Regions from separate parts of the Homo sapiens genome. Here all the other regions are linked to region 1. The links are contacts of gene promoters, found by promoter capture Hi-C in blood cells and fetal thymus (Javierre and others, 2016). All regions are on one chromosome and are shown on one strand. The core of a region is centred on a gene start or on the middle of the fragment in contact, and the rest is flanking DNA. Distances in the headings are between cores, read along the strand shown. Region 1 holds the start of LMNB1 (lamin B1). Region 2 overlaps CEP120 (centrosomal protein 120). Region 3 overlaps CSNK1G3 (casein kinase 1 gamma 3). Region 4 holds the start of SRFBP1 (serum response factor binding protein 1). Region 5 has its middle 150 kb from the start of CSNK1G3. Region 6 has its middle 4.0 kb from the start of CSNK1G3.

Region 1 (3,808 bases), core at 977-3,476:
GCTGAGCCACCACACCCGGCCGGTTTTCTCATCAGTAATTTAGATTTTAAAGTTCCCTTTAAGATTACTTGAATACTTAAAGTCTAAGCTTTTCGATTCTTTATTTCTCAATGAGGTTAAGAAAGGAAGTATTTCATGGCCAGGCGCGGTGGCTCACGCCTGTAATTCTAGCACTTTGGGAGGCCGAGGCGGGCGGATTGCCTGAGATCAGGAGTTCGAGGCCAGCCTGGGCAACACGGTGAAGCCCAGTCTCTACTAAAATACAAAAAATTAGCCGGGTATGGTGGCGTTGGTCCCAGCTACTCAGGAGGCTGAGGCAGGAGAATCGCTTGAACCCGGGAGGTGGAAGTTGCAGTGAGCTGAGATTGTGCCATTGCACTCCAGCCTGGGCGACAGAGCAAGACTCCGTCTCCCTGCCATCCTCCCCCCCACCCCCCCACCCCCCAAAAAGCAAGGAAGTATTTTAGGAAACCGGACAGGAAATAGAACCATTAATAAGGAGAATGTCATCATTCACAGAGTGCCAAAAATTCATCTGGGATGAATATGCAGCTCCCAGTGCTCTTCACTAATTCTTATGTACATGACTTGATTAACAGTTAAAGAATATCCTGGTCTCCATTTCTGCCATTTTAAAAGTAAGTAACCATTAATTACAGAAGCGTTCCTAATAGGTGGTAAGGTGGTCATCTAGGGTATAGCTAAGGGCCAGACTCGAGTCAATTAGAATCCTGGGACCTGTCAAACGCAGTCCTGCGGAGCAGCCTTCAGACAGTGAATCTATAAAATGGATGGTTTCTTTCTTTCTTTTTTGAGACGGGGTCTCCCTGTCACCCAGGCTGGAGTGTAATGGTGCCATCTCGGCTCACTGCAACTTCCCCTTTCCGGGTTCAAGGGATTCTCCCACCTCAGCCTTCCAAGTAGCTGAGATTACAGGCACCCGCCATCATGCCCGGCTAATTTTTGTATTTTTGTAGAGACGGGGTTTCACCATGTTGGTCAGGCTGGTCTTGAACTCCTGAGCTCAGGTGATCCTCCCCCACTCGGCCTCCCAAAGTGTTGGGATTATAGGCGTGAGCCACCGCGCCCGCCCGGATGAATTTTCAAATAGAAACAATCCAGTTTCCCACATCACACGGAGATTGTGTGGATGGGTAATCCATGAAAAGCCTGGTGCTGGCACTCAGTCCCAATAAATGTTAGCTAAAAATTAGGAACTTTTCAAAGGGATGAATGTGCTTTCTAATAGAAGTAGCTGCCAGTGACATCTTGGGAGCCTCTTTTTAAAAGCAAAAAATTATTTCATCTTAAATTTTCACAAGTTCAGATTTTTATGTACCTGATTTTAACGGAGTATGAAACAGCTTGCTCTCGTAGTTACTCACCGTCATATGTTAATCGTATCATTTCTGAGCTGTTTTTTGATTTTACAAACCCTTAAATTAAGAAACGGATTAGGAACCGCCCATTAACACTGTTGGCAAATGATTTAAAATCAGGGTTGCTGGTTTTTCTGTGATAATCTATCGGCTTCAAGACGCACAGATCTCACTTTCATGGAAAGAAGTTGCCTGATACAGTTTTCCACCGGAGAGAAAAATAAAGGCTGGTACTTGGAACCTGCAAGCCGTGCATTTGGAACCTCGGACTCAAGTGCCTATTACGTAATTCCACAGCGTCCCGGCCTCCAGGCCGTTTCCCGAGCCCTCCAGCGGAGCGGGGGATAAGGTTACCACGCCCGCGGTGGCCGGGGACACTCTGAGTTTCGCGTGTGGCTTTTAGGGACGTTTATATTTGAATTTCCCTGAACCGCCGAGTGTGGGCGGTGGCGCAGATCCGTCCCGGAAACCTCCGGGCTCCTTCCCGCCTTTCTCAGGCCCGGCCCCTCCAAGGGGTCCCCGCGGGGCGGCGGGAGGGCCCTGGGCCCAGAGCCGCGCGGGTGGGCAGTCCCAGGCGTCCTTCCTTACAGCCCTGAGCCTGGTCCGGGAACCGCCCAGCCGGGAGGGCCGAGCTGACGGTTGCCCAAGGGCCAGATTTTAAATTTACAGGCCCGGCCCCCGAACCGCCGAAGCGCGCTGCCTGCTCCCCATTGGCCCATGGTAGTCACGTGGAGGCGCCGGGGCGTGCCGGCCATGTTGGGGAGTGCGGCGCCGCGGCCCGCGCCACCTCCGCCCCCCGCGGCTTGCCTCCAGCCCGCCCCTCCCGGCCCTCCTCCCCCCGCCCGCCGCTCCGTGCAGCCTGAGAGGAAACAAAGTGCTGCGAGCAGGAGACGGCGGCGGCGCGAACCCTGCTGGGCCTCCAGTCACCCTCGTCTTGCATTTTCCCGCGTGCGTGTGTGAGTGGGTGTGTGTGTTTTCTTACAAAGGGTATTTCGCGATCGATCGATTGATTCGTAGTTCCCCCCCGCGCGCCTTTGCCCTTTGTGCTGTAATCGAGCTCCCGCCATCCCAGGTGCTTCTCCGTTCCTCTAAACGCCAGCGTCTGGACGTGAGCGCAGGTCGCCGGTTTGTGCCTTCGGTCCCCGCTTCGCCCCCTGCCGTCCCCTCCTTATCACGGTCCCGCTCGCGGCCTCGCCGCCCCGCTGTCTCCGCCGCCCGCCATGGCGACTGCGACCCCCGTGCCGCCGCGGATGGGCAGCCGCGCTGGCGGCCCCACCACGCCGCTGAGCCCCACGCGCCTGTCGCGGCTCCAGGAGAAGGAGGAGCTGCGCGAGCTCAATGACCGGCTGGCGGTGTACATCGACAAGGTGCGCAGCCTGGAGACGGAGAACAGCGCGCTGCAGCTGCAGGTGACGGAGCGCGAGGAGGTGCGCGGCCGTGAGCTCACCGGCCTCAAGGCGCTCTACGAGACCGAGCTGGCCGACGCGCGACGCGCGCTCGACGACACGGCCCGCGAGCGCGCCAAGCTGCAGATCGAGCTGGGCAAGTGCAAGGCGGAACACGACCAGCTGCTCCTCAAGTGAGTGCTAGCTGGCGGCCGCGTTAGCGCCAAGGAGGGGCGGGGGCGCAACCGCGGCGACCAGCTCACCGGGTTCTGCCGTGGGGAGGGAGCAGAGGCCAGGATGCACGCGTCCTTCTGAAGGAACAGGGTCTCGGTCTCCGGAAAGGAGAAAGAATCTAGAGTTCATAGCGGAGCAGGGGTCGCGGAGGGGGCTCGAGCTGTAGCGCTGGGGGGCCGTGATGCCCATTTCTAGATTTTGGATACCCGCTGGGACGTGGTAAGTGCGCGCCTGGGACTGCCGAGAAGGAGCTCCCGCTTTCGCACTCGAATCCGGGGAGCCGGCGCGGAGAGGCGGCCCCTCAGGCCCCAGGTGCGGGGAGCTGGAGCGCGAGCGCGCGCTCGCGTGCGCGCCCCAGTTTCCGGCCGGCGCGAGACAAAGCGTCTAGCGGATTTGCAGTGCCGGGATGGGCGGCCGGGGAGGACTGGCAGCCCGCCTCTAGAATGAATGAGCTTCGCGCGGGCAGAGAGAGGAAGGGGAGGGACCTTCCCGCAGCATCCGCGTCTCCTGGGGGTGGGTCCCGCTTTGGCGCGCTCAGTCTTGGCCCTGTGACGTTTTGCGAAGATTCTACGCCTGCTTTAGGCGGGAGAGAGAGGCGGAGCTTGATCCGTGCGCCTCCAGCCAGCCCCGGGCAAGTTAGGTTTGCTAGCTGGTTAGCTTTCTCTGGGGAAATGTGTCCTGTCCCAGCGGGGATGGTGCGGTCCCTCGGGTGGTTCTGCGCAGGGAAGGAAAGCTGGGTTTGTGCATGTCACGGCTACCGTTCTTAGAATTGCGGTTCTCCTACCCCTCAGGCAGCGGCCCTCTGTCCCC
Region 2 (3,803 bases), core at 12-2,511, 3.4 Mb before region 1:
GTGTAAAAGCTTAGGCTCTGAAGCTGGATTGCCTGGGCTCTACCACTACTAAGCTAACAGACTTAAAACAAGTTACTAATACTTAACATCTCAGGCCTCGGTTTCCTCATCTATAATATGGGCGAAATAAAAATAACAACTTCATAGTGTTGTTCTGATGTTTAACTGTTATTGTTGCAAAGTACTTTAAAAATTTCCTGTCACATTTAAAAAAACACTCAATAACTATAATTATTAAACGTAATGACAGATACAAAATTTATAGGTTGAACATTCCTAATTTGAAATGCTCCAAATTCTAAAACTTTGAGTGCTGACATAATGCCACAAACGGAAAATTCCACACACAAGCATTTAACATACTTCATTTTATGAAAATTTATTTAAAATATTATATAAAACTACCTTTGACTATGCGTATAATGTAAAACAAATAAATTTCATGTTTAGACTTGGGTCCCATCCCCAAGGTATCTTTGATTATGCAGATATTCCAAAAATCCGAAAATACTTCTGGTCCCAAGTATTAAATACTCAAACTGTATTTATTTATAACAGCCTGAAAAATAAGAAACCAATAAAGAAGCTAAAATGAAAATGATAATCACCTGTGCTGATGAAGCGCTTTCCTGTCAATTTCCCAAGCTAACTCAGTAGCAAATTCTGGCTGGTCAGTGTGGTCCACAGGATCAGTAGCCAACTGTTCTCCATCAAACTTTGCTTCCACTACAAGCATATGCTTTGGACGTTTGGGGAAATGCCGACCTGGAGAAACAGAATATATAGATTAATCAAAAGTGTACAAAAATCAAACAGGATCATTTACCATGTGTTTTTTTGTTTGGCTGGTTTTTTTTTTTTTTTGAGATGGAGTCTTACTCTGTTGCTTAGGCTGGAGTTCAGTAGCGCAATCTCAGCTCACTGCAACCTCCGCCTCCCAGGTTCACGCGATTCTCCTACCTGAGCCTCCCAAGTAGCTGGGATTACAGGTGCACACCACCAAACCCAGCTAATTTTTGTATTTTTAGTAGAGACAGGGTTTTGCCATGTTGGAACTCCTGACTTCAGGTGATCTACCTGCCTCGGCCTCCCAAAGTGCTGGGATTACAGGCATGAGCCACCATGCCCAGCCTAGCATGTGTTTTTTTAAAACTAATGATCTGTTAAGTGTGGTTGACATGCATTCCATAAGCTACCTCACTAATGCAGGCTCACATATACACTCACTTCCATAATTCATAAGAAACATGAATCAAATGGAAAGCTATAATTTATAAATGTGTGCTTCTCAAACATTAGTGTGCACATGAATCACCTAGGGACCCTGTTAAAATGTAGATTTTGACTCAGTAGATTTAGGGTGGGCCTAAGATTCCGCATTTCTAACAAGATCCAAGGTGATGTGAATGCTGCTGTCCTTGGTCCACACTTTGAGTAGGAATGATCTCAACAACATCTGGAATTAAACACTTAATGTGATTACACGAATTTTAGGTACTACTATTGCACTACTTAATAGAGAACAGTCATCTGAAGAGCTGGGAAATAAATTAGTAAAAACAAATTTGCCTGCAGCTTAATTTTTCTGTTAACTCAGTTAAGAATACTTTCCTGGTGAAACCCCGTCTCTACTAAAAATGCAAAAAATTAGCCGGGTGTGGTGGCATGCGCCTGTAGTCCCAGCTACTCGGGAGGCTGAGGCAGAACAGCTTGAACCCGGGAGGCAGAGGTGGCAGTGAGCACTGCACTCCAGCCTGGGCAACAGAGCAAGACTCCATCTCAAAAAAAAACAAAAACAAAAACAAAAAAAAAAAAACAGAATACTTTCCAAATTAGCTAAAGAAAAATAGCCACATGGATTCCTTCATTCTATTCTCAAGGACAACACTGTACACTATCAGGAAATATTCAAATATTCTATCTACACATCACTTTTCATTTGTACTGCCAAACCCCATTTCATCAATGTTTACTGAAGACATATTCAGAGTCAGGTATTTTATCAGATGGTGGGGTACAAAATGAGTAAAACAGAGTACTTGCTCTAAAAAAACTGAGGATCTAGTTAAGAGAAACAAACCAAAAAAAACTGAAAATAGGAAGCTAAAGAACATCAACGAAGAAGCACTAAGAATCTTGCACTGAGTCAACTAGTTCTCTTGTTTATAAATCTGTTAAGGTGGATCTTATTGAGGGGAATTTTATCCATTGATTAATGAAGAAATCCCTGCTGCTACTCACCCTGGTACAAGCTACTTGTGGGGGAAGTGTAGGAATTAAGCTGTTAAAAAGACCTTGACTGCTAACCTTGTGAGTTAAAGCCTGAGGCTCTCATTGAAACTCTGTATTAGGAGTATTAACACACATCGCACAGCTCTCCCAATTAGCATTAACAGAGGCCCATCTCAGGACCTCATTTTCTGCTGCTCCAAAAGATACCTAGCTTCCCCAAATGAATGTCATATATGTCAAAGAACCTATATTTTCCATATTATTATAACTAGCAGCTTCCAACAAGCTTGAGAACAGAGGATGTGAAGGGAACAAACAGATGCCTGCCTTGCTGCAGACAATGATACAGAGATAACAGAAATGGTCTTTTTCATCCTTGGAATCTAGTACATAGCCCAAATTTTGTTCATGGTAAAAGCTTAACCATTTTCTTTTAAATAAAGGGCATTTCTAAAAGTGTAGTCAAGAAATTGCAAGTTAACTCTTAAGGACTGTAGTCCCCCGAGTCCTCCACCAAGCCAAAGGGATGAGAATACATGAGGGGAAATGAGACTGAAAAGGTAGGCAAGAGGTCTACCACAAAGGGCCATGTATGCCATTCTAAGAAATACAGACATTATCCTTTAGGACACTGAAGGACTTTAAGAAAATCAGATTTGCATTTCAGAAAGATCATCCCCAGGGAGTAAAGGAGGAAGTCTAGATGTTTCTGGAAAGGAAGAAAACATTGAAGAATCAGACTACTGAAAAGATTATTACAGTAAGTTAGGTGGATAATGAGGGCCCCTTACCAAGGCACTCACAATGTAAACTCATTCATTCAAAAACTCGTATGTAGAATCTATTATTATTCAGAAAATAAAATCAATTATACTTGATGACCATTTGGAAGTTAGAAATGGAGAGTGAATCCAGGCTGAGGATGACTCCTTGGTTCTTGGCTTAAGGCAACAGCATGGTTATGATGAATGGAAATACAGTACGAACAAGAGAGAAGAATAGTTTGGAGGGAGGACCACATGCTAGTTTTGGGTATGTTTGTGGAAACAACCTAACAGACATCCTTGACTCCAGGTTCTCTTCCTTGCACACTGCTACTAAACTGAACTCAAGAAAAGCATTCTATTTAGGAATATATGCTGCCAACCTATTTCTTGGAACATTAATTCTAAACTGGCTTTCAAGATCCTCTGAGGCCTATTCGCTCCAGTTGTACAAGCTCATTTCTTACCATGACATTTCTAAATATTCACCTTCCTCTACCCTGGTCATCTTGCTGATCTTTTCAATGTTCCACCCACCATGCTCACCCCGGCACAAGCTACTTGGTTGGGAATCAAGCTGGTCAGAAAGACCTTGACTGCTAACCTTTTGAGTTTAAGCCTGAGGCTCTCACTTGAAACTCTGTATTAGGAATATTAACACACATCGCACAGCTCTCCCAATTAGCACTAACAGGCCTCTCTCAGGACCTCATTTTCTGCTGCTCTAAAACTAGCTTCCCCAAATGAATTGCATTTATGTCCTGGGTTGTCAGACTGGCCTGGGTTGTCCATAGAATTCTATTGTCA
Region 3 (3,560 bases), core at 666-3,165, 3.2 Mb before region 1:
GGGATAAAAAAAGTTTCTGTAGTATGTAATTTTAGAAATTGATATCCATTTTTGACATTACAGTTAATGATTTAGCTTTTAAAAATAAGTGTTTATTCTTTTCTTAGACAACCACAGTTGAGCTAATGCCAGAAACCAGTAACTGGGACACTTGCTGCTAATAGAAGCATGTGATGTAACGGCTAGCCTTCACATCACAAATATCTTTACTGATTTAAATTTTGGAGAAGGCTGAAGACATGTATTGTAATATAATTTTTATTGAGACTGAATAAAGCATTTGAAACACTGAATGAGTCGTTTCATATACTAAATTTGGAGGTTTTCATTTGAGATAACGAAGCAGTGGGAAATCAATTCTATGACAAGTAACATTTGACTATAAATTTTGATTTTTAAATTTCCATTTGTTGTAAATTTATACTTGTAAACAATATTGAATAACATGCTAAATATGAAAATATACCTATAGGAACTTTCAATACTTAATACCGATATGTTCTCAGACTACTTTCTCCTTAGACTTAAGTAGACTTAAGACTAAGACTTAAGACTTAGTTTGCAGTCTTAAGGAGGTCAGTTGGCTTTGTCAAGTCCTAAATTATTGGGCCATGCATATTAGAGAATCTGATTTTCTGTTCTGTGTTTTGTAGATTCATCAGTGGTCATCAAATTAGAAGTATGCCAGTGGCTGACATTTCTATTCATATAATCAGATTATGTCTAATGTTTTCTGTATTTAGCAGCTCATTTTTATCTTTATTAGTAGATATTACTATATCAAAATTGTAATTGTTTGTGAAAGCAAATAAATTATTTATATTCATTCTCAAAGATAATTTTTAAAAGCTTTCTTTTGAAGAATTCCTTTTGAATGTAGATATTTCAATAAGTTAGTAAACTGAGAATAATTACAGATTTGAAGTTGTAAATATTTTATTACCATTTATTCACACATGTAGTTTTATGCTACATTAAATGTATATCTGTTATTTTTAGTAGTAGATGGATTAAGGTTTCAGTTAAAGAGGCAATATCTCTTGTAAAAATAAAAATGTAGAGCAGTACAAGTAACTATGTTACAAAAAATTGTAAGCAGGGGGTATTTCTGTGAGTCTTCTCTCAGTAGTTTTTATTTTAATGGGTGCCTAATTTTTAAGTTTTCAAGATGCATTTTTCCATTCTCTTCCTGTAATTTTTGAATCTAAAGCTTCTGTGAGGGAAATTTTCAGTTTTTACCATTGACTGCATCTGCAGGTATAATACAATATTAAGATTACTCTTAATTTTTAAGAATATTTAGGTATTTTTAGCAACTGGTGTAATAGTAAGGTATTTTTAGCAACGGGTATAATTTTAATGTACACTCTGAATTTTGTAGCTAATTCTATTTCTAATCATATTTTTGTTTTTGCCTGACTACTATAAAGTGCAAAAATACATTTGCTTTGAATGGGTACTGAAACTCATGGTATATTAGTATTACATAGTTTTATTTCTAAGATCATTTTACTTCTCTGCTGATTTTTTTATGTAAATCTTTTCTTCATCCTTTTTGTAGTGCATGTATTACAAACTGCCCTAAATAATTTTTTATAACAAGGTTGGCTTTTAAATAAAGTGCTGATATTACTTAAGTTTTTAGGATAGATTGCTTCTAAGAATATATTTATAAAGCAATTCAGTGAGAAAATAACAGTATTCTTTTCAGTGGTTCTTAACTTTTTTTTAAGATCACATAATCTTTTGATATCAAACCTGTTGAAAACTGTGGTTTTCTCTTTAGAAAATTCTCAGGAAGTGTATGGATTTCATGTTAAGAACTCCACAGCTGTCTCCACTATTATTGATGGCGTCTGTTTTCATTAAAAGTAAGCAAACAAAAGCAAAAACTGATTTGTAGAGGCACTTAATACTTTGTACTGTTAAATTTTTTGAAATATTCTTCTCAAATTTCACAGTGTTTTTTAGTTATCTTTAGGATGCAAGTTACTCGTTTGTTGATAGTAGAATTAATAGGTCTATTAAATTAATGCCCGTATGTGGAAAAGAAATATAAGCAATAGTCTCTTGCCCTTTATTTCTAGTCTTTGAATTTTTCAGTAGATAGAACCAGTTTTAGTTATTTTAGTTTTAAATGCTTCAGGTGGTTACTTTTATGAATTCTAAATAATAAGCATACACTTTTCTCTTTGATACTATGTCAAATTTTTGTATTATCTTTTAATTCTCCACTAAGGATGAAATTTAACTCACATACTCCCAGTTTCCCTTCTGTCTTTAAATTTTTGGGTAGTTATTAAGTTTACTTAATCTATTACTTACCATTGACACTTTAAATAATGTTCTTACATCTCTATTTCTTGTTTTAGTAAATTTTTAGGTTATCTCTTAACTCTGTACTTTGCAGGATGTGGATATTCTTGCCCCGTCCTTCCTTTTACCTTACCTATTTCCCATTAACAGCTGAGCTTCTGTCAGTTTCAATTGTAGTATTATTTTAACACTGTCAAGGTTGGTTAAATTTATATTTTTACAGGACTTTTATCTTGCATTTTTTCTTTTTGCTAAGATTGAATTTAAAAGTTGAAAATCAGTTATCTATCGTACGGTATTATGACAAGCTTTTGAATCAAGTAGTATGATAGAGTTGCTTTTCTTTCCTTCTTAACCTTCTGAGGTCCCTTTTGGCCCCAGCTTAGGAAAATTTTCTTTTATGATTTCTTTTTCTTAATTTTCTCTGTCCTCCCTATTAATTTTTATTATTAGTTGGAAGTTGGAGGTATTGGATTGTTTCCGTCTTTTTTTCTTTATTTTTTAATGTCTTTATATTTTTGTTTTAAATATTAGGATTATTCCCCCACTTTGTTCTTGTTTATTCCATTTAATGCAGCATTATTTTCTTATATATTTATGTGTTATTATACTTCTCAAAAGCCCTTGGGGGCTAATTGTTTCAATTTTTGCTGCTGTTTTTAAAGTAAGTTCTCTTCTGTTCTTCATATGATCTGCTTCCCCCAGAGGTTTTTTCTTTTTTTTATTTTTTATTTTTTGGAAGAGGGTGTTTTTCATATTGTTAGCTTTCCTGATGTATCTAGTGGTGCTTGATTGTCAGTTTATATTTGTGATTGAGGGACTAGGCTAATATTTCTGGGTAAATGCTTTAGGTTTCTTTTGCTGTTCTGTTTTCTCTGCTGTTTTTTTTCTTCATAAAATTCTTGGGATCCTGTGCACGGATGGGGTTTATTGACTAGAAATGTTTAGAGATAGAAAGAACTCATTTATTCATCTACAGTATGTATTAACTGTCCTAGGTGTCAGGCAGTGTGCTAGGTTCAGGGATCATAAAGTTACGTATACTAGAGCCCTTGTCATCAAATACGACAGGCAATTATAAAACTGCATATTATATAAGAATACCCTTAGAAATTTCCAAGTCTAATCCTTCTATTTTATAATTATTAAAATGAGCTTAGACAGATTAAGTGTCTTGCTCAATGCTGTACAACTACATAGGAGCTAAATGGGATTCTAGGACTACTTTTGTTTAATTCTATGTT
Region 4 (3,630 bases), core at 277-2,776, 4.8 Mb before region 1:
GAGGGTCTGCCCTGACAACCTAATGTCTCTGTGCTTTAGGGAGCATCGTATTAAATAGTAAATTAACAAACACCATGATGAGTCAAGAGACGCTATGGAAGAAACTTTTTTTTTTTTTTGAGACGAAGTTTCACTCTTGTTGCCCAGTCTGGAGTGATCTTGGCTCACGGCAACCTCCGCCTCCCAGGTTCAAGTGATTCTCCTGCCTCAGCCTCCCGAGTAGCTGGGATTACAAGCATGCGTCACCACGGTCGGCTAATTTTGTATTTTTAGTAGAGACGGGGTTTCTCCACGTTGGTCAGGCTGGTCTCGAACTCCCGACCTCAGGTGATCCGCCCGCCTAGGCTTCCTAAAGTACTGGGATTACAGGCATGAGCCACCACCCTCCGCCGGAAGAAACGTTTTTCCTGCATTTTGAATAAAGGGGCCTGGATTTTCATTTTGCACTGTACCCCAGGTATTATGTAGCTGGACTTGAAGTCCTGTAGCAGTGGACAGTCCCAGGCAAGTGACTCTGGGCGAGGCACTTGGTGCCTCTGAAGTCACTTTCCACATCTGTAAAATAATAGTTCAGAGCAGAGTAGGGTGGCTCACTCCTGTAGTCCTAGTTATTTGGAAGGCTGAGGTGAGAGGATGGCTTGAGCCCAAGAGTTTGAGGCTGCAGTGAGCTATGACTGTGCCACTGCACACCAGCCTGGATGACAAAGAGAGACTGGGTCTCTAACAAAATAATATTAATAAAAGGAAAATAATTTCTATCTTGTTGGATTTCTGTGGAGATTTGGAGCTAATTTATGTAAAGCTCTTGGACCACCATTTGACACATTTTAATGGTCAATACTAGAAGGTGTTGACAATTATATATTACCTAATTCAAACACACTCCCTTACGTCTCCTATGCTTGCCGGCTAATAAACAGCCATTCCCACAGGCAGTACCAAATGTGTATCCTGGTTTTGCTTCAAATGTTTATTCCCTAAATTTAAACCCTTCTATAGTGTGCAGGAAAAAAATGTCCGCACCTCAGCTATAATGTCAGGTTGTAACAAAAAACTGCGAGGATTTAAAAAGGTGTGCTTGTTAGAAAAGCAGAAATCTTCACAAATACTAGATTTAAAAAAATGGAAGCAAAAAATCGTTCATTCAAGTGATCATTTCAGAAGAGCTCTTTCACCGCCGTTCAGCGCCCCCCTAGCCATTAGAGAGAAAAACCAAGGCCGGTACAATGCGAGCGCAGTGTACCAAGGGAACACACACACACACACACACACACACACACACACACACACACACACACAAACCGAATCTTGAAAAACTAGACGTTGCCCAGCTACCAGCCCCCGTCTGGTTTCCATAGGAACGCGCAATTCCGTTGCGTAGCCCTCTGCGCCGGTAGTTGTTCTGTCTCAGTTCCGGTTTTCCCTTCCAAGCGTCAATGTTTCTTGTTCCCAGGCGGCAGCTAGAGCAGAAGGCGGATGAGTTTTGGACAGAAGAGGCTTCCGTTGAGGGGCGTGGCGACGCAGCCGCGGTCTGAGAGACCGGTTCACGTGCAGGCAGCGGCGGATCATATTCCTTCATCTACCATGGCTCAGCCGGGAACTCTGAACCTCAATAACGAGGTGAGCGCCGAGGAACCTATGGGGCTGACTTTAAGGGTCCTCAAAACCAGCTCTTTTGAGACGCGTGGTCGGAGGCGGGCATAGAGGGTGCGGTTGGAGGAACTTTCGTGGTGGGCCCAGGCGGGTTTCCCGCAACTTGGAGTTTGGCAACCGGTAATTTCCCTTTTCGGTCTCCAGGTGACTAAAGTGAGAGACATGTGTCAGGCCCCACGAATTTATGTCTGTGGGACTTTGGGAAGAACCTTTAGCCTGTACGTTCAATATTCTCGTCTGTAAAGCGGAACTCAAGATAGTTCGTCCCAGGGTTGTGAGATTAACTGAGATACGTAAAGTATTTGCAAGTGCCTGACCCTTAATAAACTTTCAGTACACATTACCTGCTCTTTATTGCCTGTCGAAAATGAAAGAGAGAAAGTAAGAGCTGTAGCTTCTAAGAAATTGGTGGTCTTGAATGAGACTGTATGCTCAGTACTTCGTTTCCTCTTCCAGTTAGTGTCCTATTTCTTTGCTTCCGTTTACAGCAGAACTTCAATAAAGAGCTGTTTATACTTGCTATCCTCAATTCTTTTTTCTGCTTTTTCAGTCCATTCTCATCAGACATTTGTTCTCACCACCGTCACTTCCATAGTGTGCGGTGTCGACAAAATACCATTTCTACCACTTATCCCCCTCTGGTTTCTGCTTCTATTCAACAAAATAATGTCATCCAAAGTCTTAAAGTAAGCTGGAAACATAAGGATCGAGTAAGGACCTCACAGTTAGATACAGAAAGGAAATTCTTTATCCCGTTTATGAGCAAGTCACTGTTTAGATTACACACAGTAGTGTAAGGGATATTTCATATTTTCTAGTAACCTATACTCAAGTAAGAGAGCTAAGCAACACTCACCTGTGTTACAGAACAATGTGTGAAGAATGCCTCCAAAACCTAGTAATGCAGAAAAGTTTCCAAAGGCGGCAAAATGAAATGGGTGATACTTGTCCTTGGTCTTTAGGGATCTTGCACAGGAATTGCAGTCAGTGATTCAGGAAAGGGGAAGAAGTCATTCCAGGCAGAGGGACTGGTATAAGCAGGAAAGGGCTAGTAGCAGAAGAACCCGTGGGTAATACAGGGATAAGTAACTCTTCACTGATGGGAACTTGTGAGATGAAGAAGGAAATAAAACTGAAATATATTCTCTGCTGCCAGATTAACGAGTCAGGATTTCAGTTGACAGTGGAGTACAGGATATGCTGAAGAGGGAAGCTGAAAGTAGTTACTATTTACTCATAAACATACATTAAGCTTGTGCTTTGTGCCAGAAAGCGTTTGGTGGGCTATTTTGCATTAGGTTACCTGTGATGTATGAAAGATCAGAGTAATGTCCCTGGGATTTCAACCCCAGGGAGCTTCATATCAAATTTTGTAATGACTTTGATGATGGAAATGACAGGGGATGAGTCATTAAAGACTCTTTTCACACTTAGCTAACTTTTGTTCTTCTTCAAAACAGTTAAAATTTGACCTTTAGGAAACCTTCATTAACTCCTCTCGGTCTGGGTTAGGTGTCTGTTCTTTGTGCACCCAGATTGCTTTCTCCTCTGGAAACACTTATGTAACTGTTTCTGTCTTCCTGTGTTTATGTGTCTATCATGTGTAGCACATATGTTTACTAGGTGATTACATGAATTTGTGAAAGCAGGAACTACACACATCCACCACTGAAGTCTAGTGTGTTCTAATGTGAAGGAGATAAAAAGGACAGAAAAAAGTGGAGATGATGGAGGATATTATAATTTAAAATTAGTGGGAAAAAAAACCCACAAAAGGAAAGAGAGATTTATCTACATAAAAATTGAATAACCTACCAAAGAAAAGAAATGACAACCAACTAGAAAAAAAAAATACAGCAGATATGACAAAGGGCTAATGCCCTTAATAGGAAATACCTCATAGAAATTAAAAGAAACCATCTCAGAAAATAGGCAGAAGAAATGAATTAACTTCTTCAAGGAGGAAATGTATCTGAA
Region 5 (3,611 bases), core at 997-3,496, 3.1 Mb before region 1:
TGAATACATGAGCCCACCTGGATAATATAGGTCAATCCCATCTCAAGATCCTTAACTTAATCATACCTTCAAGGTCCCTTTTGTCAAATCAATTAATATTTATAGGTTCTGGGGATCAGAACATGAACACCTTTGGGGACATTATTTAGCCAACCACAAGATGTAAAGATCAGAGGAGAGTATCTCTGCGTGCAGTGCTACAGTATTCACTGCCTCTAATATGTTTGGGCTGTTGGAATGGCTCACAAAGAGAGATACCTATCAGAGCCCTTGGGCTACTGACATCTAAGCTTAGCAAGTCAATGGCAAGTCTTACTGGTTGGCCTTGAATTTAGAATTCTGTCCCATCCTCACATCAATTTCATCTGTTAATTGCTATTAGATAATATTTCTTAACTTCATTTAAATCTGTGTAACAGCCATGTTATGGGCAAAGTGTGAAGAGAATGACAGTAGACTAAAAACTCTGGGTAACAGTTGCATTTAATGCAGTGATGTTATTTGAGCACAATACATTTTTGCTGAGGGAGAGCTTGTGTTGACTATGATTGAGGCAGAGATGTATTTGTTTCATAACACTCAAGTGTAAGACACGTCATATTGCTTTATTTTTCTAAGTCAAATTAAATCTAAGCCTCTGTTCAAATAGGTTAGCAAGACAACCAATATCAGTCATGACTGGGAAGGCCCTCCCCCACCCTAGAGCTGAACAAATCCTTGAGAGTTTAATCAGGCCAGAAATCTGGACTAGGGGCTCTGGTTTTCTGTGAGCATAGTTGATCAGACCCTGCTCGTTGTTTCAGTCCAGTTGGAACATTTAAAAGTGGGTTGGTCAGTTGTTCAGAGCATCAGTTTTCCCTATAAACAACTAAGCCAGTGGAAATTCTTCTGTAGCAGCCAAGGCCATACCTCCTAGGATTCATTTTTATCTCAGTCAACCTCATCAGGACACCGTATTAGAGGGAGATTCTGGTCTCTTCTATATAAGAACCAGAACCATCCCCCACTAATTCCGAGATTTCCAGTTGTTTCCTAGCCCACCCGCAACCTCATCCCTTAGAACCAAATCCCATTTTCTCTTCAAGACCTTGCATTCTCTCACTTAAACTATGTGAGATGGTATGTGTGAGAAAGCCTGGCTCACAGAGGCACTCCAAGTTTTCATTGTGATCATTGCTGCTTTCCTCAGGATTTAAAAACAAAAGCTTCTCAACTGTCTTCTTAACAGTTCCTAACTGGGAGAGTGGCAGTCCTAAAATGTATGAATGCAAAGTCCAGCTGGCCTTTTTATTTTTATGTGATGAGCTATATGAAATTAAGGCACAAATAACTTTTTCAAGAAAGTGATTCTGTTAAAGTAGTTAATGGCTTGGCCAGGTGCGTTGGCTCATGCCTGTAGTCCTAGCACTTTGAGAGGCTGAGGTGGGTGGATCACCTGAGGTCAGGAGTTCAAGACCAGCCTGGCCAACATGGCAAAACCCCGTCTCTACTAAAAATACAAAAATTAGCTGGGCATGGTGGCGGGCACCTATAATCCCAGCTACTGGGGAGGCTGAGGCAGGAGAATCTCTTGAAACCAGTAGTGGGGGGCGGGGAGGCAGAGGTTGCAATGAGCTGAGATCGCCCCACTGCACTCCAGCTTGAGTAAAAGGGTGAAACTCTGTCTCTAAATAAATAAATAAATAAATAAATAAAATAGTTAAGGCTTGAAAGTGAATTGTTGGCCCCGTGAACATCTAGACTACAGGAAAATAATGTGTTCGTTCAGTTTTCAGCTTTTTGTTCTCTCATGTATCTGCTTTTTTCCTTTCTCAGCCACTTCCCCCTTTCAATATACTACTCATGTCAGCTGTCTTTCAAGACACAAGGGAAACAATGTTCCTAGCTAATTTCACAAGTAATACCCAAGATATGCATTTTAAATGTTTATTTAGATAGGATTGGTCAACTCATGAAAGCACACCAACTCATGTAAATATTGTACAATCATTTCAGCAGGAGAACAAAAGAGAACAGCTTCTTGGTGATTTATCTTTTTCTTACTGACTCAAGCTCTCACCCAAAACCTGTTGGTCCGTTTTAGTGGAAAGGTTAAAATGAATTCACTTTCAAATGTTACAGCTTAACTAGTAATAATTTTAGGACCTCAGATTAGGTACATGTAACTTTTTTTATTAATTACAATTTCATGTATTAAAATCACCTGGACTCATTTACTCCTCTGGTTGGGCACTTATGATACATATTGGTAAATTCTGCTGAGACTTTCTTTCTTACTAGTATGTCCAGCCTTGTGGTATCCATGGTCTCTATTGAACTTGACACTTCCCAGTGAAAATTTTGCCTGCCACATCCTGGTGGCTTTTTGTTTTGGCTCTCAGTTATTTTCTAGATTGTCATTTCCAGTCATCATGTCCTCAGTAGGAAGACCTATCACACCCAGGTTGGTGGGGAATACGACAACTTTCCCCGTTGTCCTATGATTCTCTGGTGTTAGGAACAGCTCATATTTTCCATGAGCCTTAGAGTTCTCCTAAGCTGCATGGAATATTATGGAGGTGTCTTTTCCTGGAGGATTATAACATAGCTTTTTTTCTGGCTGTTAGACCGCTTTAGTGCATTTTGAAGAAGCATTGAACCATATTGTGAAAAGTATGCAAATAATATCAAACTCAGTGGGTTACCATCACCTTTCAGATAGTCCTTTTTCTTCTCCTCTCTTTAGAGTGAAGAAGTAAATTGTGCCAGTGAATAAAAAGGAATTTAAAAAATTATGTAAAAAGGGAAAGTATTGTTTTCGTAAAAGCAACCGTGAAATACAGCTATTAAAAAAAAGAAATCTTTGATTCAGGATAGGCTTGTTTAAATTCTCAGTTTAAAATGACTTACAAATATAGTGAAAAGGTTTTAAAAATTGTTGATGCTGTTGAATAAACATCGAAAGAGGCAGTGAGGTGTGTTGAAATTGGGCTATTATTTATTATGATTATGTGTTAAATTTTGGTTTCATTGTCCTTGCCATGGATGAGGGAAGAGTAGGGTCTCTCAACTACAACTCAGTGGATCTCTGACTCCTCTTTGACCAGCAGTTTCTGGTCTGTCTGTTTGTTTACTGGTGTATCTTTGCCATTCTTTTTCTTCAAGACTTTCAGAAAATTTTATATAGAAAGTTTTTCCTTCTTGATCTAACATGAGGGGATTATATACACACACATGGGTTATGTTCTTCTCCTTTACATTCAGAATTTTGACAACTACTTTGGACTTAAAACTTGTAATTTTATTAGTAAGCTTTTAGTTTTTAATCATTTTTTGATTGCTCTATGCTCTAAGATGTTTATTTTAAAAATGTGTTTACATATGTAAGTCATGATTTGAGGTGTTATTACTTTAAGATTCAATGTCTGTTTGACTCCCCTTCTAAGAGATGTTGAGGTGAGTATGCTTCCTCTTTATCTTACTTCCCCTCCCACTTCTTTCCTTATATTACTTGAAGTGGATTCTATTATCATTTCTAAATTGACCTATTACATTTATGTTTTGTTCTATAGTACTTCTAATTCTCACAGTTGGGTAGTGTCTTTACAATGATTTCTCCATTCATCTCCAAG
Region 6 (4,059 bases), core at 1,143-3,642, 3.3 Mb before region 1:
AAACAAAAGAAATATACTCTGGGTAATGCAATCAAACAGAATTTAGTGAAAGGCAATTAGGGGAGTCACAGAACTGACGGAAGCTGGAAGACCTGGTCTAGGCAGAATCCAAAATGCTCCAGAGGCTGGCAAGTAAGATCATAGCCATTATTCTGTGTCAGAAACTGTGTGGTCAGGTTGCCACTCTTGGGATGGAGTCCCTCCCATTCCAACCATTTTTAGTCTTCACGTTCCTCACCTCATAATTCAAACCTAGGTGTACTCCAGCCTGGGTGACAGAATGAGACCCTGTCTCAATAATAATAATAATAATAATAATAATTCAAATCTAGGGAGAGAGAATCCAATTGATATTGTTTCAGCAACATGTTCCCCGTTACTCCTCCTCCCTTACTCCACACCTACAGGAAGGCACAGCCTCTGATCACTGAACAGAGTGAGACAGAAAAAGATTCATCAAAGGGAAATCTGAGTGCTACTAGGAAAAGGTAAATAGATGCTGGACAGCCAATATACCATGAATGTCCATAAGTACTTGGTAAATAAAATTATGAAAGGGCCTGAAGCAAATTCAAATAATAATGTTTTGCTTCAGAACCACAATCTGGTTCCAAGTCTTAGGCTCTTAAAGCTAGGAAACGACTTGGGATCTGATATTTTCAACTTCTGATTACTGCTCATGTTGGACTGGAAAACGCAGGTTCCTAGGGGTCATACTGGTATTTAACAACAACCATTTATTTATTGCTTACTATATGTCAGACACTGTGATAAGTACATTGTAGATTATCATTCATTTAATCTTCCCGATATCAATATGGTACAGATACTATTGCCTCATTTTACAGATGAGCTGAGGTGTAGACTATTTAAAAAGCTTGCATAAGGAAGGAATATAGAAGGAAGCCAAAAAGTAGTATAATCCTAATTACAGCAGAAGTAGAATGAGAACTAAACAGAAGTGAGAATTTAAACTAAAGTGTCCTCTCACATCAATTTTAATTTCTGTTGACCCTGTGATCTTGTTCGGACAGATATGGCATTGATACCACAATAAGCATAGGTGGGAGGATGAAGACATGTCAGGAATTTAGCAGTACTAGCTGGTGAAGAAAGGGATGACGTTAAGGCCAAGCATAACCAAGCATGACTGAGACTAAAGAAACATAATTAGAGAGGCTGATCCCCACAGGTAGGCCCTTGCTCACTGTCCACAGAGTACATGAAGTTCAGAGATGGCATAGACAAGCTGTGGCACCAATGCAGTCGTATTCAGCAGAAGGATATAGTAATCCAGTAAGCTTAGTCAGTGGGTGATGTTTGAAGAAGTTCAGTAGCTTGAGGGTAATCTATCATAACAGTATCCTGTCCAATGAACTAGGATCTAGTCAGAACAGGGACTAGTGAAAAATTTTCCAAACCAAGCTTAAACCTTCACATTAGATGAGAGCTTAGGAATTGATACAGTTCCAATTATGAAAGAAAAGCAAAGGAGAAGTCCAGTGCTATAGACTGGGAAAATATTAGGGATATAGGGAAGTGGCACAGCTTGAAGTCTACCTCTAATCCAGTACTCTTGCTTAGCATTCTACATCTTCAGAGGGCTGCATGGTTCCTATAGGTGGGGGCTGATGAGACATTTAGTCTTGCTCAGATTTGTCTCATGAGCCGGGAAGGACTCTTGAGGTAGAAATATGAAGATATAACTATGGGGAGCAAAAGAAGACAAGAAGAGGGAAAATGGAACAGGGACTAATTATTATGACCATCTCCAAACTTTAGATTGATATATTACTCAGAATTCAAGCTGTTCTTGAAACCATTACAAGAAAATCACAGCTTTAGCTAACTTCCATTTATCACAAAACAACATTCTTTGGATAGCCAAACTTACATAAAAACTGCCAAAATTCAGGTCTGCTAATGGAAAAAAACAAAAATTAAATTGCCTAGCTAGAGATTTAGTCACTCTTTTTGGCAAGACACTTTTACATTTTTATGGTGTTTTAGCTTTTCCCTATGGAGCGTTTTCTTCATGGAAGTTCTCTCTCTTAAGAATGTATTCTTTTCTCCATGAGGTTTTAACATGGTCTACAAGTTGTCTTCTCTTATTAATATCCTGTCTAGCCTTTACCTTTAATTTATAGATGATATACTCTCTGCATGGAAAATACCCCTTTGAGGAGTGCTGTGAACTGAATTTTGTCTCCCCAAAGTTCATATGCTGAATCCCCAACCCCAAATGTGATGGAATTTGTAGGGCCTTTGGCAGGTAATAGGGTTAGATGAGGTCATAAAGGTGGGGACTTCTGTAGGATTAAGATGAAGAAGAGAGAGAGATCACCCTCTTTCTCCATGCCCACACATTGAGGAAAGGCCATGTGAGGACACAGGGAGAAGGTGCCAATCTGAAAGTCAGGAAGAAAGATCTCACCAGACTTTGACCATGCTGACATCCTGATCTCAGACTTCCAGCTTCCAGAACTGTGAGAAAATGAATTTGTATTGCTTAAGCTACTCAGTCTGCAATACTTTGTTATGGCAACCCGAGCTAAGACAAGGAATCCTGGAAATGTGATTTTATTAAACATTTCTGAAGATCAACATTATAACATGTAATAAAGCCTCTCAGAAAAGTTTTGTGATTATTGTACATTTATTTTACCACCTACCAAATACTTCAAATCATCCTTCTAAGGATGGTATAAAACAGTGTCTTGACTTTTTCGAGCTGTACTCATGTAACAGTCTAAAATAAAGGTTGCTAAGCGATAGCTTCCCCAAAACCTGATCTAGCTGTTGTATGTGACTGGCTTTCTCCCACAATCCTTCTTGTCTCTCCCCTTGACTGTAGGCTTGACGGGGGGAAGAAATTATTTTCCTCTTCATCGTAGTAAAATATGTTGCTCTACTCCCAGCCCCTGGCTATTGTTACAGTTCTCCATTTTGCATCCTTCCCCGTTCTACTTCATTGTTTACTTCTTCCTAATTACATCTTTCTTCCAGGTACTTTTCCTTTAAAATAATGTTAAAAAATAAAGAATTAAGTATAATTTGGTGATGCCTCAGGCCTTATTCTGGCAACCAGTTAATCACCATGCCAGGTTTACCATTACAGTTAAACAAAATATTTGAAAGAAGGAAATGAATGTTTTATCTGTTTTTATTTTGAAAAGTCTTAGTAAATATCTTAGTCTCATAATTTCCTGCTTAAAACCATAATCAAACTGTTTCATTTCCATCTTTCTTCAACTTTAAGTTTTACTGCTTACAAAGGAGAAAAAATGGCCAGCTTTACATTCCACAAACTCTACATACCATTCTCTGTCTCACACAAAGCATCTGCAGGACATGTAGAGAAAGCTTTTGTGAAAAGAGAATTTGATAAATGCAAGTTTCCAATGTACTACAAAACTTGTGACAACAGTATCACATGAATTTATGCAATAATCATAATGAAAATATTAATAGAATATAAATACCTGAAGAGTGGCAATGCCAGGAAATGTGAGGTGACACAACAAATAAACTATTTGATTTGTAATATAGCAGATTGACAAGTATAATCTGGCTGCTTAGGTTGGAGCATCATGCTATAAGATAAAGAGTTTTGCTTGCAATGCCTGTGTATTGGCTTTTCCTTCATTAATATAAGCTGTTTTCACATTGCCAATTTTTCATATATATACATACTTTTTTTTTTTTTTTTTAGACTTAGTCTCACTCTGTCGCCCAGGCTAGAGTGGAGTGGCGCTATCTCCACTTACTGCAACCTCCGCCTCCCAGATTCAAGCGATTCTCCTGCCTCAGCCTCGAGAGTAGCTGGGATTACAGGTGCACACCACCACACCTGGCTAATTTTTGTATTTTTAGTAGAGATGCGGTTTTGCCACATTGGCCAGGCTGGTCTTGAACTCCTGACTTCAGGTGAACCACCTGCCTCGGCCTCCCAAACCAATTTTTCTTATAAGTTAATAGAATGACCTGAAAATTTAATTGCCTCCTACCTAGGTTACTTGCTTTTTTTTTTTTTTTTTTTGTTTTGAGAAAAGATCCTAC

What was found. Contacts are between HindIII fragments. The CHiCAGO score rates a contact against its expected background, and 5 or more counts as called.
Region 2: a fragment that was not itself captured here is called in contact with the fragment with the promoter of LMNB1 in region 1 in 2 of 17 cell types (total B cells and neutrophils); the score reaches 7.2 in total B cells.
Region 3: a contact is called between a fragment that was not itself captured here and the fragment with the promoter of LMNB1 in region 1, in 1 of 17 cell types (M0 macrophages). The highest score is 5.9, in M0 macrophages.
Region 4: the fragment with the promoter of SRFBP1 here is called in contact with the fragment with the promoter of LMNB1 in region 1 in 2 of 17 cell types (monocytes and activated CD4 T cells); the score reaches 6.8 in monocytes.
Region 5: a contact is called between a fragment that was not itself captured here and the fragment with the promoter of LMNB1 in region 1, in 1 of 17 cell types (naive B cells). The highest score is 10.5, in naive B cells.
Region 6: a contact is called between a fragment that was not itself captured here and the fragment with the promoter of LMNB1 in region 1, in 1 of 17 cell types (monocytes). The highest score is 5.1, in monocytes.

Annotation. Positions count from the first base shown.
Region 1 is chr5:126,774,910-126,778,717 of GRCh38, forward strand. It overlaps LMNB1 (lamin B1), which reads left to right and starts at 2,227. Exons shown (of 11, transcript NM_005573.4): 1 at 2,227-2,958. The coding sequence starts at 2,600. It overlaps LMNB1-DT (LMNB1 divergent transcript), which reads right to left and starts at 1,577. Exons shown (of 4, transcript NR_134485.1): 1 at 1,386-1,577. RefSeq lists silencers at 1,004-1,053, 1,704-2,353, 2,554-2,633, 2,944-2,993, 3,204-3,313 and enhancers at 1,988-2,788, 3,804-3,808. The HindIII fragment of the contact is 4,360 bases long and covers 87-3,808 here.
Region 2 is chr5:123,417,751-123,421,553 of GRCh38, forward strand. CEP120 (centrosomal protein 120) reads right to left here. Exons shown (of 20, transcript NM_001375405.1): 2 at 609-765. Among named protein-coding and RNA genes, the nearest start is that of CEP120, 3.8 kb to the right of the region's middle. The HindIII fragment of the contact is 2,509 bases long and covers 8-2,516 here.
Region 3 is chr5:123,530,783-123,534,342 of GRCh38, forward strand. The region is part of intron 1 of CSNK1G3 (casein kinase 1 gamma 3); the gene reads left to right. Among named protein-coding and RNA genes, the nearest start is that of CSNK1G3, 20 kb to the left of the region's middle. The HindIII fragment of the contact is 1,414 bases long and covers 1,209-2,622 here.
Region 4 is chr5:121,960,449-121,964,078 of GRCh38, forward strand. It overlaps SRFBP1 (serum response factor binding protein 1), which reads left to right and starts at 1,527. Exons shown (of 8, transcript NM_152546.3): 1 at 1,527-1,620. The coding sequence starts at 1,585. RefSeq lists enhancers at 1,180-1,718, 1,463-1,512. The HindIII fragment of the contact is 3,156 bases long and covers 1-2,903 here.
Region 5 is chr5:123,661,388-123,664,998 of GRCh38, forward strand. No RefSeq gene overlaps it. Among named protein-coding and RNA genes, the nearest start is that of CSNK1G3, 150 kb to the left of the region's middle. The HindIII fragment of the contact is 2,086 bases long and covers 1,204-3,289 here.
Region 6 is chr5:123,506,172-123,510,230 of GRCh38, forward strand. No RefSeq gene overlaps it. Among named protein-coding and RNA genes, the nearest start is that of CSNK1G3, 4.0 kb to the right of the region's middle. The HindIII fragment of the contact is 1,938 bases long and covers 1,424-3,361 here.